Linked DNA regions of Homo sapiens: regions 2 and 3 are each linked to region 1. Evidence: promoter capture Hi-C in human tissues and cell types (Jung and others, 2019). All regions are on one chromosome and are shown on one strand. The core of a region is centred on a gene start or on the middle of the fragment in contact, and the rest is flanking DNA. Distances in the headings are between cores, read along the strand shown. Region 1 holds the start of EIF4H (eukaryotic translation initiation factor 4H). Region 2 overlaps GTF2IRD1 (GTF2I repeat domain containing 1). Region 3 has its middle 6.2 kb from the start of METTL27.

Region 1 (3,059 bases), core at 203-2,702:
ACTTAAATTGACCACGCTGTTTAAGAAGAATTTTTCTGGGTACTTCTGTGAACGTTTTTTGGAACTAGGAAAAAAAAAAAAACCCTAGTTATTAAATTTCGAAATGACTTGAGAACAAATTTGATGTTTAGAAACCTAACCCAAAGGCGATAATTTCATGTCATCCAACATTTACTTCTTTTTTTATTAGCAAATAAAATGTTCTTTGGAATGACAATAGCTCCACCTACACCGGCACACTTCCACGTTACAGTATCATGAACATTAGCTACACTCCTGCCCCGAAACAAGCTTTTGTCTGAGCCGTTCCCAAACCAAGGTATTAAAAGTGATCATTCTTTACCAAACAAAGATACTTTTGGACTGCAACCCAGGAGACTGAACACCTCAGTGTGTATTATTGTGGTGTTATCCTGGGAAAGTAATCCTTTCTGCAAGAAAACACAAAGCCCAAGTGTGTCCTTGACAAACAGCAAGATGTTCATAGCCTATATTCTAACGAGGCAACTTGTATTTAAAAAATAAAATAAAAAAAAGTGCAGAGTCCTGGAATTAAACACCATGAGCTCTCTATTCAAAGATGTTTCTTTTAAGCAAAGTGTTTCAATTATACATAGTTGTCTGCATTTGACAACAATCAGGACGACGCTAAATGCGGTTCCTTCTCCAGATCAGAGCGAGAAACCAAGGAGAAATGAAATTGTGCCAAAGAGCACGTAGCACCTGTCAAGGCACTGTGACCCAAGAAAGATTAATACAAAGAAGCTACGATGGATTTATCTCCTTGGTCTCCCCCCGCCCGCAAGGAGTCGTACCATCCCCGGGCCAGAGCCGCCAAATCCCTGCCTCACACGTAAGGGGAAGGGAATCGCCCCTCTTGGCTGCCGACCTTCCCCAGTCGGCCGGCCTCGTGGCGAAGGGGCCAGGGGCCTGCAAGGCGGGCAGGCAACAGAGGGCCGCGAAAGAGGCCGGGACCGGAGCGGGGCAGGCCGTGTGGCCCGTACCCCAGCGCCACAGCTCAGCCCCGCACTGGTCCTACCGTAGGGGGGATGGGGCTGGAAGCGGGCGCTCGTCTCCGGGCATCGGCGCCGCCGCGGCCAAGGCAGGGCAAAAACCAACACGTTGTCGTTGGCGGGAGGCAGTGGAAGGGATCCGCCCCGCAAGCAAGACCCCGGGAGCCCAGCCGCCGCCGCCCCGTCTCCGAGCGCGCCATTTCCAGGCCCCGGCCCTCCAGGCGCCGCTCCTAGGCCTCCGCGGGCCCCCGCCTCCCGCCGCCCCGGCTGAGCGCAGGACGGCCGCCACCCTGACGGCCCCGACTCCGCCGGTCCCGCAGCCCCCGACGGGGCCCGCGCACGCCCGCCTCACCCTCTGCCGCCGCCGAAGCTGCTGTAGGCCCGATCGTCGTAGGTGTCGAAGTCCGCCATTTGCCGTCTCCGCTCCGAGAGGAACCAGGGTGAGCGAGGAAGGACCCCGCAATATAACTCCCCCCGCCCCGCCGCCGGGGCTGTCCGCCGCGCCGCCTGATCGCAAATCCCTTGGACGCAGGCACGCGCACGCGCGCGCGCGCACGCACGCACGGACGCTGGCCGCGCAGCGCCCGGCCCTGGGCCCACCGGCAGCTGCCTGCCCCGTGCGCTCTGCAGCCCACGTGGTGCGGCGGCGTCCCAGCTGGACGCCTGCCCGGCCTACGCGGCCCATTATGTGCTGGCCCTGGGGTGCGCCCGTGGCTGCCTCCTATCCCCGCCGCACCACGCCCGTGCGCGCCGGCCTTTCCGTCCGTCGGCGGGAGGTGACCTGGAGAGCTGGGGGGAACTCCCTCTCCAGTTCGCCTGGGACGCTGCCTTTCGGCCTCCATACATGGCGGGGACCTCGGAGGCCTGTCCCGCTTGGACCCCCAAGTGGTCCCCGGGTGACACCCAAGTAAAGGCCACCTCCTTCTCCAGGCAGGAGCTGGCCACACGATGAGGATGCCCCGGAAGGGGGTGCGAGGCGGTGGGATGCAGACACGAATCCTGCCTTCCAGGGCTTACTCGCTGCCTGGGTATTGGGGGGTTTTGAGAGGAGAGAGTATAGGTGATCGGTGACTTAGCAAGAGAGACTGCACATCTCGGTTTTTTGCAGAAGTCGTTGCCTTGGAAAAAGAATTGGATACTGTTGTGGATTCCATCATCTAGCAATAACAAAACATGGTTATGCAGTGGGAATTAATTACACGGGTAAATTTCCAGGTTTGTGATTGAGATGGTAGTAATTGTGGATGCCACGATGTTGACAAACCTTAATTATCTAAGCACACTTTGAAAGAACCTCATAGAATTTTGTTGTGATGTGTACCTAGGTATCTTCCGCTTAACCATTACTTTTTATTATGTATTTATTGGTTCGTTGTTGAGACAGGGTCTCGCTCTGTCGCCCAGGCTGGACTGCGGTGGAACAGTGGTAGCTCACGGCAGCCTTGACCTCTTGGGCTCATGCCATCCTGCCGCCTTAGCCTCTGGAGTAGCTAGGACTATAGGCGGGCAGTACCTCGCCTAATTTGCATTTTTTTTTTTTTTTTTTTGAGATGGAGAATCAGGTTGGAGTGCAGTGGCGCAATCTCATCTCACTGCAACCTCCACCTCCTCGGTTCAAGCAATTCTCCTGCCTCTGTCTCCCGAGTAACTGGGGTGACAGACGTGCACCACCACACCCAGTTAATTTTTGTATTTTTAGTAGAGACAGCGTTTCACCATGTTGCCCAGGCTGGTCTTGAACTGAGATCCACCCGCCTTGGCCTCCCAAAGTGCTGGGATTACAGGCATGAGCCACCGTGCCTGGCTCTAATTTGCTTTGTAAAACATTTATTTGTAGAGACAGAGTCTCACTATGTTGCCCAGGTTTGTCTCGATCTACTGGCTTTTAAGTAGTCCTCCTGCCTCTGCCTCCTAAAGTGCTGGAATTACAAGCATGAGCCACTGTGCCCTGCCAACTTTTATATTTGAGTATCTTCTCCTTCATAGCAGTGTTAAGATGGACAGAGCATTATCAATTCATGAGTTAATAGTGTTGAACTCACTTAT
Region 2 (3,059 bases), core at 353-2,852, 410 kb before region 1:
TTTTTTTCTTTTTGTTTTTCCAAGACAGAGTCTCACTCTGTTGCCCAGGCTGGAGTGCAGTGGCACGGTCTCGGTTCGCTGCAACCTCTGCCTCCCAGGTTCAAGCCATTCTCCTGCGTCAGCCTCCTGAGAGCTGGGACTACAGGCGCCTGCCACAACGTCCGGTTAATTTTTGTATATTTAGTAGAGATGGGGTTTTGCCATATTGGCCAGGGTGGTCTCAAACTCCTGAGCTCAGGTGATCTGCCTGCCTCGGTCTCCCAAAGTGCTGGGATTACAGGCGTGAGCCACTGTGCCCAGCCTGACTCCTGTTTTTTGAGACAGGGTCTCACCCTGTTTCCCAGGTTGGAGTACAGTGGTGCCATCATAGCTCACTGCAGCCTTGAACTCTTTGGCTCAAGCAATCCTCCCCACTCAGCCTCTCAAGTAGCTGGGGCTCCAGGCATGAATCACCATGCCAGACTAAGTTTTTTTAAAATTTTTTGTAGAGAGAGTCTCTCTCTGTTGCACAGGCTGTTCTCGAACTCCTAAGCTCAAGCGATCCTCCTGTCCGCAGCCTCCGAAAGTGCTGGGATTACAGTTGTGAGCCACTGTGTCTGGCTCTTTTAATCTTGAAAACTCTGGGAAGAGCTCACTTCTGTTTAGGAGGCTGCCTTGGGAACTGCATCTCCTGGCGTGGTGCTCTGTGCTGCTTAGAGTCTGCTGACCCCGTCTGGGTGGCTTGGCCTCCCGTGCGCAAGCTGCCAGAATGGAGGCCCTGTTCCCCATGTGGGGGTTGCCCCAAAGAGCAGGGAGCTTCCCACAGGACAGAGGCTGGGCACCTGCTTGGCCTGGTTCCTCCTTTTCCCAGGGCTCCAACACCCACCACCTCAGGTCCTCCCAAACCCTGCAGGTCCCTGGCCTGGTCCGTCCACACCCACACTCAGCAATCTCTGCACATCTCTGAGTTGCTGATCTGTCTTCAGGCACGGCCCGCCAGCCCCCCTGCGTGCCCAGAGACACTGCAAACATCAGCCATTCCAGACAACGTCCTCCTCCCGTGTCCCTATCTCGTGGAGTAATGCCTCTAATTCAGCCACACAAAGACCCCACGCTCCACATCCCCTAGAACCCTCGTCTTCTCCTGTGACCCAACACGGGCCTTCCTTTCAGGACTAGGATGTGGGAAGAATCAAGGCCACCCTTGTCCAAATCCATGCAGACAACAGTGATGGAGTCCTGGGCCCAAGGACCAGCTCCTAGAGCCTGCAGGGAAGCAACAGCACATTCCATCTGTCCCCATGCCACTGAGGAATCTTTGGTGGCAGGATTCTCAGCAGGCATGGCCATGCATGCACAGAACAGAGAAAGGATGGCCTGGATCACACACATCACTGTGTGCAGATGCTTTCCTAGACACTGCAGCCAAAGACACAGAGGCTCAGAGAGGTAAAGAAACTTGCCCAAGGTCACACAGCCTCTAAGCACCAGGAGTACTCTGTGTCAACCCCAAAGCCCTGGTCTTTCCACTCTACCATGAGCCCTGGGTTTCCTGAGGTCTCAGATTCCTCTACAGTTTCTTTCTTTTTCTTTTTTTTTTTGGAAGAGTCTTGCTCTGTCACCCAGGCTGGACTGGAGTGCAGTGGTGCGATCTTGGCTCACTGCAACCTCTGCCTGCTGGGTTCAAGTGATTCTCCTGCCTCAGCCTCTCGAGTATCTGGGATTACAGGCACCCACCATCACACCTGGCTGATTTTTGTATTTTTAGTAGAGATGGGGTTTCACCATGTTACTCAGGCTGGTCTCCAACTCCTGGCCTCAGGTGATTCGCCCACCTCGGCCTCCCAAAGTGCTGGGATTACAGACGTGAACCACCATGCCCAGGCTCCCCTACAGTAGCTGTAGAAAGAAGGCTTAATCTTTAAGATAGTTTCCTCTAATCTGTTGCTCTCAGCCCACAATGCCACACCTCTGTCTTCTCCTGTGTCGGGACAGAGCGAGACTCAAAGTCAGAGCTCTACGAAACCTGCAGGACAGAAAGAAGCTTAGCAGGCCTCTCAAAGACGAGGCCCAGACCGGGCACGGTGACTCACGCCTATAATCCCAGCACTCTCAGAGGCCGAGGCAGGTGGATCACTTGAGGTCAGGAGTTCCAGACCAGCCTGGCCAACATGGTGAAACCCCGTCTCTACTAAAAATACAAAAAATTAGCTGGGCGTGGTGGTGCATGCCTGTAATCCCAGTTACTCAGGAGGCTGAAGCAGGAGAATCCCTTGAACTGGGAGGTGGAGGTTGCAGTGAGCTGAGATTGCGCCACTGCACTCCAGCCTAGGCGACAGAGCAAGACTCCGTCTCAAAAAAAAAAAAAAAAAAAACACCAAACAGGCTGGGCGCGGTGGCTCACATCTGTAATCCCAGCACTTTGGGAGGCCGAGGTGGGTGGATCACCTGAGCTCAGAAGTTCGAGACCAGCCTGTCCAACGTGGTGAAACCCCGTCTCAACTAAAAGTACAAAATTTAGCCAGGCGTGGTGGCAGGTGCCTGTAATCCCAGCTACTCCGGGGGCGGAGGCAGGAGAATCGCTTAAACCTGGGAGGCGGAGGTTACAGAGAGCCAAGATCGCGCCATCGTACTCCAGCCTGGGGGACAAGAGCGAGACTTCATCTCAAAACAACAACAACACACAAAAAACCCAAACAAACAAAAAACATGGGACCCCAAACTTACTATGCCAAAGGGAAATGTTAAGCTTGGGAACTGAGTCACGCAATAGCCTTTTGTTCCTAAACAGATGGCTGCAAGATAGAAGGCCACCTAGCTCCCCTGGTGGCCTCCCTCACCCTGGCCATGTAAATTCACAGCTTATCTTCACAGGCAGGGGACAAAGATAAGAATAGAAATCATTGCTCTGTCTACCCAAGACAAATGCCTATATGACTTCCTCTACTCTATTTACTTTATCTTATGTAAAAGGCAGATTTACTGAGCACAGGATAAATACATCATTAACTATTCCTCTTCCCCCTTTATTTTTTTATTTTTCGAGACAGAGTCTCCCTGTTTTCCAGGCTGGAGTGCAG
Region 3 (3,059 bases), core at 178-2,677, 330 kb after region 1:
GGATACTGTAAAAACGCCACTCTGGCTGGGCTCAGTTTGTTAACTATTGAAACGCTCATGAAGAAATACATGGGGAGTTATTACACTAGTCTCTTCTTTTGTGTGTGTTTGAGATTTTCTTCTTCTTTTTTTTCTTTTAGTTTTTTCAGACAGAGTCTTGCTGTGTTGCCCAGGCTGAAGTGCAATGGCGTGATCTTGGCTCACTGCAACCTCTGCCTCCCCGGTTCAAGTGATTCTCCTGCCTCAGCCTCCCAAGTAGGTGGGATTACAGGCATGCACCACCATCCCTGGATAATTTTTGTACTTTTAGTAGAGACAGGGTTTTGCCATGTTGGCCAGGCTGGTCTTGAACTCCTGATCTCAAGTGATCCACCCACCTTGGCCTCCCAAAGTACTGGGATTACAGGTGTGAGCCACCGCACCTGGCTGGTGTAGTTTGAGTCCACAGGATTTGCTGATGAACAGGGTGCGAGATGGGAGAAAAACAGCTTGAGCTGAGCCCCTGAGTGCAAGGTGGTTCAGGGGCATTTGCAGAGACGGGCCCTGAAGAGGAGCAGATTTGGGAGTGGAAAGAATCACTCTCGGGTCTGGGCTCGTTGCCAGACCTGTGGCCTCCAAGGAGATGTCAGTTTCATGGCTGGGTGAACAAGTCCAGAGTTCAGGGGAGAGCCAAGACTAGAAGTCATCAATTTGGGAGTCACCCACAAATAAACAGTATTTAAAACCACGGGACTAGATGAGATCACCTAGGAAGTGGGTGTACACAGAGAAGGAAGAAGACCCAGGACAGAGCCGGGGGCCTCTCCTAAGCTTAGAGGTAGGAGAAGAGCAAGGAGGAGGCGGTGAAGAAGATGAGGTAGGAAGAAAACTCCAAGGAAGGGAAGTTGCCATCTGGTCCTCAACAGCCCCCACACCCCATCAGCACCAAGGTCACCCCCTCCTCAGCAGCCCCTGACTCTTGACACTCCAGCTCTTGCCAAGTAACTGCAACAGCCTCGGAACTTGCGGTTCACCCAGCTGGCTCTCCCTGCCGCCTTCTGGAGCCATCTTGGTAAAATGCAAATCTGAAGCCACAACTCCCCATTACACATTCAGGGTTAGAAAGCACGTCCATAGACCAGGCGTGGTGGCTCATGCCTGTAATCCCAGCACTTTGGGAGGCCGAGGCAGGCAGATCACCTGAGGTCAAGAGTTTGAGACCAGCCTGGCCAGCGTGGCAAAACCCCATCCCTACTAAAAATACAAAAAAAATTAGCTGGGCGTGGTGGCACATGCCTGTAGTCCCAGCTACTTGGGAGGCTGAGGCAGGAGAATTGCTTGAACCCAGAAGGCAGAGGTTGCAGTGAGCCAAGATTGCACCACTACACTCCAGCCTGGGCAACAGAGTGAGACTCCATCAAGAAAGGAAGGAAGGAAGAAAGGAAGGAAGAAAGGGAGGGAGGGAGGGAAAGGAAAGGAAAGGAAAGGAAAGGAAAGGAAAGAAAGAAAGAAAGAAAGAAAGAAAGAAAGAAAGAAAGAAAGAAAGAAAGAAAGAAGGAAGGAAGGAAAGAAAAGAAAGAAAGAAAAAGAAAAGAAGGAAGGAAGGAAGGAAGGGAGGGAGTCCATAGCCTGGGGACCAAGCTCTCCATGGCCTGGGTCCTGCACACATCAAAATGGACACCTGTAACATTCCCCGCTCATCACACAGGTGCACATGAAGGAACACACGCCCTCACACCCCAGGAGCAGCACAGGAGCCCGCACTGTGGCAGGCCAGGTCTCCCCAACAACTGTTTCAGTACTGACTGAGTGGTTAATTTAAATATTAAAAGCCAGTGCCCTTATACAAAGGCTGGGATGTAACAAAAGCCCACCAAGAGTTTTGCCCAGGCCTTTCCTGGGCCTTAAATCACGACAAAATAATGAAGGAATTCTTAACAGGACCATTTAGAATTAAGCAAGTTTTATTTTGGGTCTGAAGAAACTCCCCAGGCCTCCACAAACAAATTTATTGGCGGTCTGAAGGAACTCCTCAAACCTCCATGATTTAGCAGGAGATAACAGGAATCACCCCAGCACCTGGACCCATTTAGATAAGTAAATTTACTGAGGTTCCAGAGGAAGAGCTTCGGGACTCAGACCTTAGTCATGGATTAAAAGAAATTAATCACTTATGTCTTCAGATGAATGCACACTTACACATAGACGTATAGCTTAGAAGGTGTATAAGCTCTGGAAAACTTTGTAACTTTGAGTTAGTCGGGTGATAATTTCCACGCCTTCTCCCTGTAAACGGTTACAGAAATAAAAACTCTCTTCCTCCCCAGTTTGTGTGCATCTCGTTATTGGGCCACAAGAAGTAGCAGCCCGACCCTCAGTTTGGTCTGGGAACAGTACCACAAGCCATTCTCCCCTCCCTCCTTCCTGGATGGAAAGCTCACACCCCACACCTGAGCCTCAAAGTGCCAGATCACAGTTTCCCAGCTTCTGTGGCTTCTGGAAATACCCTCCTCCCATAGAAAGAAAGAGAAAGGCCAGGTAGGTTCCTCACACATGTAATCCCAGCATTTTGAATGCCAAGGAGGGAGGATGGCTTGAGCCCAGGAATTGGAGACCAGCCTAGGCAACATAGCAAGACCCCATCTCTACAATTTTTTTTTTTTAATTAACCAGGCTTGGTGGCAAGCACCTGGAGTCCCAGCTACCCAGGAGGCTGAGGCAGAAGGATTGCTTGAGCCCAGGACGTAGAGGCTGCAGTGAGCTAGGATTGTATCACTGCACTCCAGCCTGAAAACAGAGCAAGACCCCTCTCAAAAAAATAAAATTAAAATTAAAAATATAAAGGACAAAAGGGAGAGAGGGAGGGAGGAAGGGAGGGAGGGAGGGAGGGAAGGAGAAACAAGGAAAAGCTCCTGCCATTCCTAGCCTACTTTGGGCTTTGTTTTGTTTGTATTTTTTTCTTTGAGATGGACTCGCTCTGTTGCTAGGCTGGAGTGCAATGGCGCAATCCTGGCTCACTGCAACTTCCGCCTCCCAGGTTCAAGCAATTCTCCTGCCTCAGTCTCCCGAGTAGCTGGGAC

What was found. The method cuts DNA at HindIII sites, captures the fragments that hold promoters and counts their contacts. A contact is called where the count stands out against the background at its distance.
Region 2: a contact is called between a fragment that was not itself captured here and the fragment with the promoter of EIF4H in region 1, in 2 of the 25 tissues and cell types used here (dorsolateral prefrontal cortex and lymphoblastoid cells).
Region 3: a contact is called between a fragment that was not itself captured here and the fragment with the promoter of EIF4H in region 1, in 1 of the 25 tissues and cell types used here (IMR-90 fibroblasts).

What each region holds. Positions count from the first base shown.
Region 1 is chr7:74,172,749-74,175,807 of GRCh38, reverse strand. It overlaps EIF4H (eukaryotic translation initiation factor 4H), which reads right to left and starts at 1,452. Exons shown (of 7, transcript NM_022170.2): 1 at 1,366-1,452. The coding sequence starts at 1,424. RefSeq lists enhancers at 387-899, 900-1,413, 1,395-1,689 and a silencer at 1,192-1,701. The HindIII fragment of the contact is 15,155 bases long and covers 1-3,059 here.
Region 2 is chr7:74,584,406-74,587,464 of GRCh38, reverse strand. All of the region lies in intron 22 of GTF2IRD1 (GTF2I repeat domain containing 1), which reads right to left. Among named protein-coding and RNA genes, the nearest start is that of MIR10525, 10 kb to the left of the region's middle. RefSeq lists an enhancer at 1-265. The HindIII fragment of the contact is 6,527 bases long and covers 1-3,059 here.
Region 3 is chr7:73,847,198-73,850,256 of GRCh38, reverse strand. No RefSeq gene overlaps it. Among named protein-coding and RNA genes, the nearest start is that of METTL27, 6.2 kb to the right of the region's middle. The HindIII fragment of the contact is 7,829 bases long and covers 1-3,059 here.